Regions from separate parts of the Homo sapiens genome. Here all the other regions are linked to region 1. Evidence: promoter capture Hi-C in 16 types of primary human blood cells and fetal thymus (Javierre and others, 2016). All regions are on one chromosome and are shown on one strand. Each heading gives the region's core, a stretch centred on a gene start or on the middle of the fragment in contact. The rest is flanking DNA. Distances are from core to core; before and after follow the strand shown.

The links. The method cuts DNA at HindIII sites, captures the fragments that hold promoters and counts their contacts. A CHiCAGO score of 5 or more calls a contact.
Region 2: a contact is called between a fragment that was not itself captured here and the fragment with the promoter of TEAD2 in region 1, in 3 of 17 cell types (M0 macrophages, M1 macrophages and naive B cells). The highest score is 6.1, in M0 macrophages.
Region 3: the fragment with the promoter of RPL13A here is called in contact with the fragment with the promoter of TEAD2 in region 1 in 3 of 17 cell types (total B cells, naive B cells and naive CD8 T cells); the score reaches 7.4 in total B cells.

Annotation. Positions count from the first base shown.
Region 1 is chr19:49,359,174-49,363,665 of GRCh38, reverse strand. TEAD2 (TEA domain transcription factor 2) reads left to right here and starts at 1,250. Exons shown (of 13, transcript NM_001256660.2): 1 at 1,250-1,333; 2 at 3,585-3,822; 3 at 4,167-4,231. The coding sequence starts at 3,591. It also overlaps a transcript of DKKL1 not described here. RefSeq lists enhancers at 1,457-2,165, 2,166-2,875, 3,421-3,921. The HindIII fragment of the contact is 6,430 bases long and covers 1-3,561 here.
Region 2 is chr19:49,462,480-49,467,054 of GRCh38, reverse strand. It overlaps ALDH16A1 (aldehyde dehydrogenase 16 family member A1), which reads right to left. Exons shown (of 17, transcript NM_153329.4): 8 at 4,300-4,485; 9 at 3,106-3,201; 10 at 2,792-2,928; 11 at 2,533-2,638; 12 at 2,293-2,423; 13 at 1,150-1,317; 14 at 772-973. Among named protein-coding and RNA genes, the nearest start is that of FLT3LG, 9.4 kb to the left of the region's middle. The HindIII fragment of the contact is 235 bases long and covers 1,801-2,035 here.
Region 3 is chr19:49,485,561-49,489,620 of GRCh38, reverse strand. RPL13A (ribosomal protein L13a) reads right to left here and starts at 2,013. Exons shown (of 8, transcript NM_012423.4): 1 at 1,977-2,013. The coding sequence starts at 1,991. FLT3LG (fms related receptor tyrosine kinase 3 ligand) reads right to left here. Exons shown (of 9, transcript NM_001459.4): 9 at 3,390-3,606. RefSeq lists enhancers at 1,433-2,037, 1,946-2,065, 2,126-2,625. The HindIII fragment of the contact is 13,590 bases long and covers 1-4,060 here.

The DNA.
Region 1 (4,492 bases), core at 1-2,500:
CCCACGTCAGTTGACCTCAGTCCTGGAGACCAAGTCCTGGAAGTCCTGGCGGTGTTCTCTGATTGCGGCCCTCGTTTCGGAGTCCCGCCCAATCGCAATGGCCACGCCCCTTGGCTGAAAGCCACGCCCCTGCACTGGGCCACGCCCCTGCACTGGACCACGCCCCTGCGTCCCAGATCTTGCCCTCATCACCCCAAGTTCCAGTCCTAGGCTCCTCCTACTGGAGACACCGGAGTACAAGCATCCCTTTTAGCTCTCACTCTAATTGTGTATCTGTTTCGGAACCTTTTCTCCGTGTCCCTTCTGGTTTTCCCGCTCCCGCTCCACTAAAAAGTCCCGTTGTCTCCGGAAACCCTAAATCCAGTCTTATATTTCATCTTCCAAGGAACCCAGAATCAGACTTCCTTTTCCCTGAGGACCTCAGGTCCGGACTCCCGCCCCCTCTAGTCCCGTAATTTTGAACACGCAGCCTTTCACCCTTAAGGGACCGGGCCCTAAGCCATCTTCCCTCAGGCACCAAAGCTCTCTTCCCCGTCCCGGGACAGCCGCCAGCCGTCTCCAGTCCACTAGCGCCTGTAGATGAGGAATCTGCACCTACGTGGGCCTCCAATAAACTCCCGGTGGTCCTGCCCACGACTCTTAACTGTGGTGAGGTCACAAGGAAACCAGGTCGTCATAGGAATCAGTCAAAACCCATCCCCAGACCCCAATCCTCAAAAAAAAAAAAAAACAAAAAAAACAAAAAACAAAAAAACCAAAAACCAAACAGAAAAAAAGAAAAAAAACCTCAGGGCTTAACAGTAAAGACTCTTTGTATTCGTATCACTTCCGCACCCCCAATACACAAACACGAGGGTAGCCGGGATTCCAGGCGCCTAGCCCCGTCCCCTCTCAGACCTAGGAGCCCATATCTCTCTCCAGCCGCTTCCTCTCCCAGACCCAGGAGTCCCAGCCCCCAGACCCAGGAGTCCCAGCCCCCAGCCTCTCCTCCCTCAGATCAGGGGTTTCTGGCTCCTATCAGCCTTTTCCCTCCGACTTGGAGTCCGAACCCCCAATCCCCCTCCTTTCCCAAGCACCCAAATCCTGAGTTCCTACCAGCCCCGAGATAGACTAATCTCTCCCAAAGCAAAAATCCTTCCCCAAACTGTCACCGTCGGATCCCCCTTCCCGCTGTCCGCCGGCCGGGCCCGCCCCCCCCTCCGGTCCCTCCCACTTTTCCCAAACAAAGCTCCCGGCAACTTTCTCCCTCGCAGCGCCCCGCCCGCCCGCGGCTCCCCAGCCCCAGGCCGGGAGGTAGGAAGGCGCCGGCGGGAGTCGGGGATCCTGCTTTGGGGTGTGTGAGTTGGGGTGGGGAGTTGCTTCTTAGGAGGTGAGGCGTGCGTTTGCGGGACCGTCTCTGAATGGTTCGCAGCCCTCTTTTTGCCCGGGGGCCCGAATTTGCTCCCGTGACCGAGCCTCAGTGAGGAGTGGGAACTCTGGCCGGAGTTAGGGTGCCTGCGGCTGGGTCTGAGTTTGGGCGTGCGCGCAGGAGCGGGTGCGGGCCAAGGGCGCTGGCGGGGTGTGGGGCGTGCGTCTGCGGCGGTGTCACTTTGGAGTGAGAAGGACCCCTTGTGTAATCTGGGGGGCATTTGGTCCTTCTTACGGAGAAGGGAGGGCCTCTGGGGTGGCCGAGGGGAGGTTACGGGGCTTTCTGGATCTTAAGTCTTGCCTCTTTGGAGGTTTAGGGTCTGGGGCGGGAAATTAGGGGGACCTTTCTTACCCGGCTCCACCGTCCCTTTGTCTGGCCACATGGGGAAGGGCTGGGCTGGGATTTTGGCCTACGGGGGTCCTGAACGCCGCAGCGCCACTGGGCTTGGCTGGGGTCTTTGTCTGCTATGGTCGGCGGGAGGAGGGGAATAGGGGCCTGGACTCTGGGGTCCTGGGAAAGCTGTGGAGGACATGGAGCCTCCGGGGAGGCGGGATCTGACTGTATTGGAAAAAGTTTTCCCTGTTCCCGGCCTCCGGAAAGTCACTGGGAACTTGAGTTGGATCAGAGCCCACGGCGCACGGGGGAGGGGAGGGGCGGGGCCCGGTGCCGGAGGGGAGTCGCCCTGGCCGGCAAGCCCCTCCCCTGATGGGGGTTGTGGGAAGCTGGGGGAGGGGACGCCTGGGCCCTTTGTTCTGGCTCTTCTGATGGCAGGGCGCCCCTGTCCCCCAGCTTGTGGTTCTGTGGGTCTCTCCTGGTCTCGGCCTCAGCTGCTGCCCTGAGTCTCTGTCCCTGCCCTTTCTAGGTCTCCGTCTCCCTTTCTCTGGGTCTCTGTTGCCCTCTCTCTGAGCCTCTGTCCCCCTCTCTCTGAGTCTGTGTCCCCCTCTCTCTGGGTCTCTGGTCCCCTCTCTCTCTGGGTCTCTGTCCCTCTCTCTCTGGGTCTCTGTCCCCCTCTCTCTGGGTCTCTGTCACCCTCTCTCTCTGGGTCTCTGTCTCCCTCTCTGGGCCTCTGGACCCCTCTCTCTGGTCCCTGTCCCCCCCCCCCGGTCTCTGTCCCCCTCTTTCTGGTCTCTGTCTCCCCCTCTCCCTGGGTCTCTGTCTCCCTCTCTTTTTGGGTCTCTGTCCCTCTCTCTGGGTCTCTGTCCCCCTCTCTGGTCTCTGTCCCCCCCTCCCTCTGGTCTCTGTCCCCCCCTCCCTCTGGTCTCTGTCCCCCTCTCTCTCTGGGTCTCTGTCCCCTCCGTCACTGGTCTCTGTCCCCCCCTTCACTGGGTCTCTGTCCCCTTCTCTCTCTGGTCTCTGTCCCCCTCTGTCTCTGGGTCTCTATCCCCACCTCACTGGTCTCTGTCCCCCTCTCTCTCTGGTCTCTGTCCCCTTCTCTCTCTGGGTCTCTGTCCCCCCCCCTTGCTGGTCTCTGTCCCCATCCCCTCTCTGGGTCTCTGTCCCCCTCCCTCTCTGGGTCTCTGTCCCCCTCTCTCTAGACCTCCCCTCAGTCTTGCTTGGCCCCTCTTCTTTTCTGGCAGCTGCTGCTCACATCTTACCACCTGTTCTTGGGGTGGGACAGGGGAAGTTTCACCCACACCTTCCTTCCCCACCACTAACTTTTGCCTCCTGTCTTCTTTAAAACCCGTAATTCATACCCGAACCTTTAGCCTTCATGGCCCTCGGCATTACTCTAGGGTAATCATTGTGACTTCATCACAATTGAGTTCCTCTGGAAACTCTGAGAACACTCCCATCCTCAGCTTTCCAAGAAATCCAGCTCCTTCTCCTCCCTCAGACTCAGGAGTCCAGACCCCAGCCCCTTCTCCCTCACACCCAGGAGTCCAGGCCTCCAGCCCCCGCTCCCTCAGACCCAGGAGTCCAGGCCCCAGATCCTCCTCCCTCAGTCCTAGGAGTCCGGGCCCCAGCCCCTCCTCCCTCAGACTCAGGAGTTCAGGCCCCAGATCCTCCTCCCTCAGACCCAGGAATACCCCCCAGCTCCTCTTCCCTCAGACCCAGGAGTCCAGGTCCCCAGCCCCTCCTCCCTCAGACCCAGTGGTCCAGAGTCCCAGCCCTCTCAGCTTCAAGTCCCTTGAGGGTGGGGTTTGGGGGAAGCTTGCTGAGTTCTGTGTTCCTCCAGGCCCAGATGGGGGAACCCCGGGCTGGGGCCGCCCTGGACGATGGCAGCGGCTGGACGGGCAGTGAGGAAGGCAGTGAGGAGGGTACCGGCGGCAGTGAGGGGGCTGGGGGTGACGGGGGCCCGGATGCAGAGGGGGTGTGGAGCCCAGACATTGAGCAGAGCTTCCAGGAGGCCCTGGCCATCTATCCACCCTGCGGCCGCCGGAAAATAATTTTGTCTGATGAAGGCAAGATGTATGGTGAGTCTACTTCTGTCTTTTGCCCTGGCCCCCACTGATGAATAATGACAGTAACCAAGGTTTATGGAGCACTCTGAAGTAGGAGCTAGCATCACCATTTGCACAGATGAGGAAACTGAGGCACAGCTAGGTTAAGTGATTTGCTTATGGTCGCACAGAGCCAGTGCGTGATGGAGCTGGGATTTGAACCCAAGCAGTCTGGCTTCCACGTAGCTGAGGGGACCGGCAGCCCACTTGCTGCAGACCTTTGGGGACCCATGCTGCTTTCTTCTTCCCTGGTGTCCATGCTGTGGGGAAGTTCTGTTGAAAGTCTAACTAACTCTGTTCCGTCTTTGAATCTTCAGGTCGGAATGAACTGATCGCCCGCTACATCAAGCTGAGAACGGGGAAGACCCGAACTCGAAAACAGGTCTCGGAATGGACTTGTGGGCTTCTGTCTGGGATGGGCCGGTCTTCTTAGGGTCATCCTCGCATGGGCAGGTTCAGGTTCAAGGAAGAAGCTGCTTCCTGTGCGTTCATCTGTCTTCTCGGCATGTGTGTTAGTCCGTTTGTATTGCTATAAAGAATTACCCGAGGCTGGGTTATTTATGTATTTGTTTATTTTTTGAAATGGAGTCTAGCTCTGTTGCCCAGGCCGGAGTGCAGTGGCGCGATCTTGGCTCACTGCAAC
Region 2 (4,575 bases), core at 669-3,168, 100 kb before region 1:
AGAGGGAGACTGGTGCCAACATGCCCAGCTAATTTATCTATTTTTTGTGGAGACAGGGTTTCACTGTGTTGCCCAGGCTGGTTTCAAACTCCTGGCCTCAAGCGATCCACCCACTTTTGCCTCCCAAAGTGCTAGGATTACAGGCGTGAGCCACCATGTCTGGCCAGGTATTTTTTGTTTTTTGTTTTTTTTTGTGACACAAGGTCTCACTCTGTCACTCAGGCTGGAGTGCAGTGGCACGATCTCGGCTCACTGCAACCACTGCCTCCTGGGTTCAAGCAATTTTCCTGCCTCAGCCTCCTAAGTAGCTGGGACTATAGGTGCCCACCACCGTACCCAGCTAATTTTTTGTATTTTTAGTAGAGACCAGGTTTCACCGTGTTGCCCAGGCTGGTCTCGATCTCCTGACCTCGTGATCCGCCTGCCTCAGCCTCGCGAAGTACTGGGATTACAGGCGTGAGCCACTGCGCCCCCAGGTGTTTCTTTACAGCAATGTGAGAACCGCCTAACAGCCCACTAAATTGATTTTAGGGTCCAGGAATGGGTCGCTATCCATCATCTGGCGAACGCTACTCTACGAGGCGGGTTGTGTGCCCACTCACTGTACAGATGAGGGAACTGAGGTAGGGAGAGGTGAAGCCACTTGCTGATGATCCTGCCGTGGAAGGCGGTGGGGCTGGGCCCGAATTCCAAGCCTGGGTTATCTCACAGCCTCTGGTCTGAGCCCCACCCCGCCTGCCCAGCTGGCCCAGGTGCCCACAGACCCTTCACCTGCAGGGTGTGGCCTTGGGCCTGCACCCGGGCCCCCCACGCCCGAAGTCGTCTTGCGCTCAGCTCCACCTCCGCCTCCGCAGCCTTGAGCTCCGCTCCCTGCCTCTCCAGCCTCGAGGCCAGGGTAGACTTCCGGCGCTCCAGTGCAGCCGCCAGGGCCCACAGCAGGGCTGCCCGGGCTCCTGGGGACTGGCCCGCCCAGCTGTGGGCAGACAGCGCACAGTGGGGGTTGGCATCCTGGTCTTGGCTCTCCTGACACCCCACCTCTGTCCACAGCCCCTACCCTGGGGGCCCAGCCTCCCAGTCCACCAATTGCTGTGGGCAGGCTCCCCTCTCTGCCACACCATGACCCTTGGGCTTTCCCGTGTGACCCCTTACCCAGGGAAAGCCTGGTGAGCGGCCTCCACAGCACCTCGGATGTCCTTGGCTCCACCCTCAGCCACGTAGCCATGGAGGTTGCCAGACGAATCCCGGATGGGCCTGGAGCTTCGGGCCCCAGGAGCCTGGAAACGGCCCCCAACGAAGAGCCCATAGGGGGGTGCTGGGCTGGAGTAGGGTGGGACATGAGGAGGAGTCCTGGGGCCTCAATCTGCTCAGACCCTATGCTCTACCGCACTGGGAAGACTGCCTTGGCTCCCGTGAGCCTCTGGGGCACCCCAAACCCCTGTTCCCATGAGCCTCTGGGGGACCCTAAAACTCCTGCTCCCATGATTCACTGGGGGACCCTAAACTCCAGCTCCCATGAGCCTCTGGGGGACCTTAAACTGCTCCCATGAGCCTCTGGGGAACCCCAAATTCCTGCTCCCATGAGCCTCTGGATGACTCAAGTTTCTGCTCCCATGAGCCTCTGGGGGACCCCAAACCCCTGTTCCCACTAGCCTCTGGGTACCCTAAACTCCTGCTCCCATGAGCCTCTGGGGGACCCTAAACTCCTACTCCCATGAGCCTCTGGCAGACCCTAAACTGCTCTCATAAGCCTGTGGGGCACCCCAAATTCCTGTTCCCATGAGCCCCGGAGGACCCAAAGCTTCTGCTCCCATGAGCCTCTGGAGGACCCTAAGTTCCTGCTCCATGAGCCTCTGGGGGACCCTAAGCTCCTGCTCCCATGAGCCTCTGGTAGACCCTAAACTGCTCCCTTGAGTCTCTGGGGGGACCTCAAACTCCTGCTCCCATGAGCCTCTGGAGGACCCCAAGTTTCTGCTCCCATGAGCCTCTGGGGGACCCCAAGCTCCTGCTCCCATGAGCCTCTGAGGGACCCCAAGCTTCTGCTCCAGTGAACCTCTGGGGGACCCCAAGCTCCTAGACCCATGAGTTTCTGGGAGAGTACAGACATTCATGGGGCAGAGCTGAGAGTCTCGGCAGGCCTGGGGTAGGGAAAGTGTGAGGCCACAACGTGGTACTCAGCAGGACTAAGAGATGGTTTGGATGGACCTCGCGCCAGCCCTCCAGTCCACGGGGAAACAGGCATCAATTCCCCTCTCCCCGTTCACACTCCCAGACCACTGGCCCCCAACGACTCACCTGGGCCCTATTTCAGGCCCAGCCGGCAGGGTTGAGGGAACAGCGAGGCCAAAGGTGTCATAGTTCAGGTTCTTGGAGAGGCAGGACAGCCGGGCAGGGGTCCCTGAGGGCCGCAGATACTCATACAGCCCCTGTGAGAGGGACGGTGTCAAGAGGATGCAAGGGGCACGCGAGGCCGGATGCGAGTGTCAAGGGCATGGGGCGGCGGGGGGGCTGGTGACGGGGAGGGGATGTACTCACGTCTGGGCCCCCGTGCCAGGAACACCCACTCTCCTTGCAGCCGCCTGTGGGCACCGAAGGGTCTCTGAGGCCGTGGGCGTTGATCCAGACAGTGCCCACCTGGAGCCTGTGGGGAAGATGAAGGTGTCCAACAGAGGAAAACAGACGGTGGCAGGCCGGGAGAGGGGTGAGTTAAAGGCGCGGGGAGCGACCCAGGGAGAAGGGAGATGAAGATGGAAGAATGAGGAGAGGAGTGAGCGCCCGGGCCACGCAGACTGACCCATAGCCCAGCTCCAGCGCCTGCCCCAGCCTCTCGCTCCACACACTGGCGCTGCCCCCGCGGGGCGTCCCGTTGGCCACCAACAGTGCCTCCTTGGCTGTGCGGAAGGGGGAGGCCACGACCACAGGCCACGGCACCTGCAAGGGGTGACCGGGAGGCTCAGCCCTCCAGGGCCCACCCACCAGGGAAGGAGCCTAGAGCAGGCAGCAGCCCCCACGCCCAGGTCACATGGTTACCCCAAGGGCTTCCCCAGGCACAGAGCTGCTGCCCTTGGCTGGCGGTGGGTAGGAGCTCTGCAGCCTTAAGGGTCTCACCTCCACCTGGGCACATGGGGAGGCTGGGGGCAGGTTGGAGACCAAGGTTGGGGGATAGAATGGGCGTTCCGAAGGCACATCACCAGCCTGGAACACCTAGGGAGAGAAATGATCTAGAAGTCGACTTCTGGTCCCTTCCTGCTGAGACCGAGGACTGCAGGACCCCAGCCCCTCCTCCCTCAGACCCAGGAGTCCAGGCCCCCAGCCCCTCCTCCCTCAGACCCAGGAGTCTGGACCCCCAGCCTCTCCTCCCTCAGACCCAGGAGTCCAGGCCCCCAGCCCCTCCTCCCTCAGACCCAGGAGTCTGGACCCCCAGCCCCTCCTCCCTCAGACCCAGGAGTCCAGGCCCCAGCCCCTCCTCCCTCAGACCCAGGAATCCAGGCCCCAGCACCTCCTCCCTCAGACCCAGGAGTCCAGGCCCAGCCCCTCCTCCCTCAGACCCAGGAGTCCAGGCCCCCAGCCCCTCCTCCCTCAGACCCAGGAGTCTGGACCCCCAGCCTCTCCTCCCTCAGACCCAGGAGTCCAGGCCCCCAGCCCCTCCTCCCTCAGACCCAGGAATCTGGACCCCCAGCCCCTCCTCCCTCAGACCCAGGAGTCCAGGCCCCAGCCCCTCCTCCCTCAGACCCAGGAATCCAGGCCCCAGCACCTCCTCCCTCAGACCCAGGAGTCCAGGCCCAGCCCCTCCTCCCTCAGACCCAGGAGTCCAGGCCCCCAGCCCCTCCTCCCTCAGACCCAGGAGTCTGGACCCCCAGCCTCTCCTCCCTCAGACCCAGGAGTCCAGGCCGCCAGCCCCTCCTCCCTCAGACCCAGGAGTCTGGACCCCCAGCCCCTCCTCCCTCAGACCCAGGAATCCGGGCCCCAGCCCCTCCTCCCTCAGACCCAGGAATCCGGGCCCCAGCACCTCCTCCCTCAGACCCAGGAGTCCAGGCCCAGCCCCTCCTCCCTCAGACCCAGGAGTCCAGGCCCCAGCCCCTCCTCCCTCAGACCCAGGAATCCAGGCCCCAGCACCTCCTCCCTCAGACCCAGGAGTCCAGGCCCAGCCCCTCCTCCTTCAGACCCAGGAGTCCAGGCTCCCAGCCCCTCCTTCCTCGGACCCAGTTGTCCACGCCCAGCTCCCTCCTCCCTTGGACCCAGGAGCTGGGTCTCCAGGCCCCTCCTCCCCTGACACCCTCAAGTCTCTACCCCCTGCCTCACCTGTGCACCCTGGCTCTGGGCCTCACGCACAAAGCGCTGGACCAGGTCACATGCGGCAGCCCCCCGGGCCCCCATGTCCACGGCCCCATCCAGCCCTCGGCCACTCCGAAGCCGCCCCATCCGCTCCTGCAGCCGTCTCATGGCTTCATCCCACACAGACTCCTGGATGAGGAGCCTGAGGCCACCCTGTGAGGAAAAGGGGCATCAGGAGATCACACCATTGCACTCTAGCAAGTTGGTGATCTGAAGAGTGAAGACAGAGGCTGGAAAACTAGG
Region 3 (4,060 bases), core at 764-3,263, 130 kb before region 1:
TCATATCTGAGTTCTTCTATGAGTATTTTATGCTCAGATTGTATTTTGCAAAGCAATTGGATTTGAACGAAGACCAGCAAGGCTCTGCCCACTGACTACCCAGTTACAAGACCTTGTAACTAATAAACTGTAGGATTTGGTTTTGAGACAGGGTCTCGCTGTTGCACAGGCTGTCCTGTGATCCTGTGACCTCCCAGGATCAAGCTATCCTCCCACCTCAGCCTCATGAGTAGCTGGGACTACAGGCGCGCACCACCACACGCAGCTAATTTTTGTACTTTTTTTTTTGTTGAGTCAGGGTTTTGCCATGTTGCCTAGGCTGCTCTTGTACTCCTCGCTTCAAGTGAACCGTGTGCCTCGGCCTTCCAAAATGCTCGGATTACAGGCTTGAGCCACTGTGGCCAATCAATTGTAGGATGTTAACACAATCTAATTCTCTTCTAATGTATAGGATGTTTCTACCACAAATTTAATTTGGAAGAAAACCGAATTTCAGGTGGGATGAGATTAGGCAGAGTAGTCAAAAGCCCATGCTAGCTCTGCTATAGAGCACTCTGCTTTCCCCGGTAAACTGCTCAGGCACCGAACCTCAGCTTCCTCCGGAGTAGAAATCCTGGCCGGGCACAGGGGCTCACGCCTGTAATCCCAGCACTTTGAGAGGCCTAGGTGGGCAGATCAGTTGAGGTCAGGAGTTCGAGACCATCCTGGCCAATATGGTGAAACCCTGTCTCTACTAAAAACACAAAAATTAGCCAAGCGTCGTGGCAGGCACCTGCAGTCCCAGGTACTCGGGAAGCTGAGGCAGGAGAATCACTTGAACTTGGGAAGCAGAGGTTGCAATGAGCCAAGATCGCACCATTGCACTCCAGCCTGGGTGTCACAGCGAGACTCCGTCTCAGAAAAAACACTAAAAGTAGAAATCCTCATTGTTTTAATGCAAAAGCATGAAGCACACACTGGTTGTTACACATGCTTTGTAAGCGTTGGTACAAAGACTCTAAAATCCAGACAGACTTCCTGAAGTCGTGACCTTGGCCCAAAATCACCAATTCCAATTTAATTTCCTCCTCTGTAAAACAAGGATACCAGTAACTGCCTCAGGAATATGGTTAACTGAACTACGCAAAACATTGCGAACTGTGCTAGGCACAAAGACACATGCTTGGTGAACACAACTTGCCTAGATCGGCCTGGCTCTGAAATGTCACCCGCCCCAACAACAGACTACTCACAAAGAAACCTTTCCAGGGCCAATCCCTCCTTTATACTTAAGTAGCTACACCAGGAGCCAGGGAAAGGGCCCCCAGGTGTCAGGCCCAAAAGATGTCCCATCCTTGTGGAACCATTCATCACAGCTCTCGACTTCCAGTAACACGCCTCAGGACAATCGCCAATCCCCAAAACGACGGAAAACGAGTTCATTCCAGAGTGCCCCGCAGCCAACAGCTCTCGACCCCCCGCAGAAAGGCATTGAGAATTAAAAGAACCGGAGCTGCAGGGGACCCCGATTAACACCTCCACGTGAAATCAAAGTAGCCCGCGCACTGAGCGGGATAAAAATACCTTCCATTTTGGCCAAAACTCAGTTTCTCATTGCCCCGAGACCGCCCGGCCACACTTCCGCGTGTTCCTCATCGCTGAGGACACACAAGGGTCCAATTCGGCCAAGACTCTACCCCAGGGCCCCCACCCACTACCCGAGTTCAAGGTAAGCAAAATCTAGTTGCAAAATACCTGTCCTGTGCTGGAAGCTCTATCACCCTCGCCTCGAGAAGGAAATGCCACATTGTAGCCAACCCTAGGCCTAAAGAGAGCCGCGGCATTTCCTACAGATTCCCCTTATCCCAAAAGACTTCCATTTTGCTTCATTATGGATGTTAAGCTCCGCAAAACATGCAAGACAGAGAGGGTGCGACCCCATTCCGGCCTGGATCCCACCCGGCCCCTTGCCGCCCCGGCCCGCGCGGAGCCCATACCTGCACCTCCGCCATCTTCGGCAGCCGCTTGGAAAAGGAGGAGGTTTTGTCGCAGGGTTTCTTATCCCTTGAAACAGGGGCGGCAGAAGTGACGCAACGCGGTTGCGCGGACGGCTTCCTGTGTTTTCATTGGTCGAAGCGTTCTGCGCGTGCGCAGAGATTCCCCAGGGAAGGCGGGCCCTCTTCCGAATGTCCAATCCGGACATTCTTCCGGTTGGACCTCCGCGGTCAGCGCTGTGCCCGGCGAGAGATCACGTGGGGCGCGGAGGCGGTGCTGCTGGGGCACGGCCGTCCAGCCTCGGCGGCCATATTTTTGAGGGGCTGTTCATCTCGTTCACACGCTCTGTCCGCCATGTTTGTGAGTGGAAGCGCCATTACCCCTTCAAGCGACTGAAGGCTGCAGGGCCTCTGGTGGCCCGCATGGGGAGACCAGACCCGCCAGGCCCGCCTTTCCGCACTCAGTCCGGGCTTACTTTATTTTGTGAGACAGGGTCTCGCTGTGTTGTCCACACCAGAGTGCTGTGGGGCGATCATGGCTCACCGCAGCCTCCACTTCCTGGGCTCAAGGGATCCTCCTGCCTCAGCCTCTCGAGTAACTTGGACTACAGGGGCGCGCCACCATGCCTGGCTAATATATATATATATATATATTTTGTTGTGGCCCGGGAACGGGGGGAGTCTGACATGTTGGCCAGGCTGATCTCGAACTCCTGGGCTCAAGCGATCCTCCCGTTTCGGCCTCCCAAAGTGCTGGGATTACCGGCGTGAGCCCCGGAGCCTTGCCCATTCTAGGCTTAGAGATTTGGATTCCTGTGTCTGGTCGACTTCACTGTGACCTGGAGAAACCCTTGGCCTTATCTGGGCCTCAGTTTATCCATCTGTAAAACAGATGGAGGTGGTCTTCCCCAGGGGCTCTAAGAGTGGATCAAGGAATGGCTTCTAGTTGCCTGGCTGCACCAATCCACTGAGCGTTCCTCAGAGGAACTTCTCACTTTCTGGACTGTCGGCCTTTGCTTCAGCTGGGTCCCTTGCCCAGGATGCCCTCCCCACCCCCTCCAAATCTGGCTTGTCACCATCGCAATGCCATTTGGCTCTGGAAAGCCTCTCTGCTCTCCCTGCCTGGGTGAGTTGCCCCTCACACTGCCTCTGTTTTATCTCCATAGTAGCCTATGGCATCCTGCACCCAGGCTCGCTGAATCCCTTGTCTTCTCGTCCATAGCCAAGGAGACCTGGGGCACCTGGGCTGGTTCTGACTCAAATCCAGGCTCTGACATTGCCCAGCGCCGGCCCGGGGCTCCAGGGGACCTCAGAAAACACGTATTGAATGAAACATTGCATTGCAATTCAAAAACCAAGATTCTGAAATCAAAACTACCCCATTCACACCCATCCATAGACAGACCTGGCCAGAGCTGGTAGAAAAGGATGATTTATATACAATTTCATGGGGACAAGGGCTTTGTACAGAGTTGGGTAAATGGGGCCGGTGCTGGATTCTGGCGTTGCCTCCATTCTGGGGAGGGAATGAGAGGGGCCCAAGGAAGGGACCGGCCTCTAGCCAACTTCCTCTGTGTCCAGGCTATGCATCCTCTGGCTGGTGACTCCCCTCTGTGTGCCTCAGTATCCTCCCCTGTAAAATGGGATGATAGATGTCTGTCTCACTGCGTTGTTTAAGGCTCCGCTGAGAGAGGAGAGGGAAAGTAGCTTAGCTTGGGGCGGGCCACAGATTTATGCCCAAAACAACTCCATTCCCAGCAAGCGCTTACTATGTGCTAGGGCATTGCTGTCCAAGAGAACGTGGCCATGATAGAAATGTTCCCTATATTTCCCCGGGCGCGGTGGCTCATGCCTATAATCCCAGCAGTTTGGGAGGCTGAGGCTGGTGGATCACCTTAGGTTGGGAGTTTGAGACCAGCCTGACCAACAGGGAGAAACCCCATCTCTACTAAAAATACAAAATTAGGGCCAGGCACAGTGGCTCACGCCTGTAATTCCAGCACTTTAGGAGGTCGAGGCGGGCGGATCACCTGAGGTTGGGAGTTTGAGACCAGCCTAGCTAACATGGAGAAACCGTTTCTACTAAA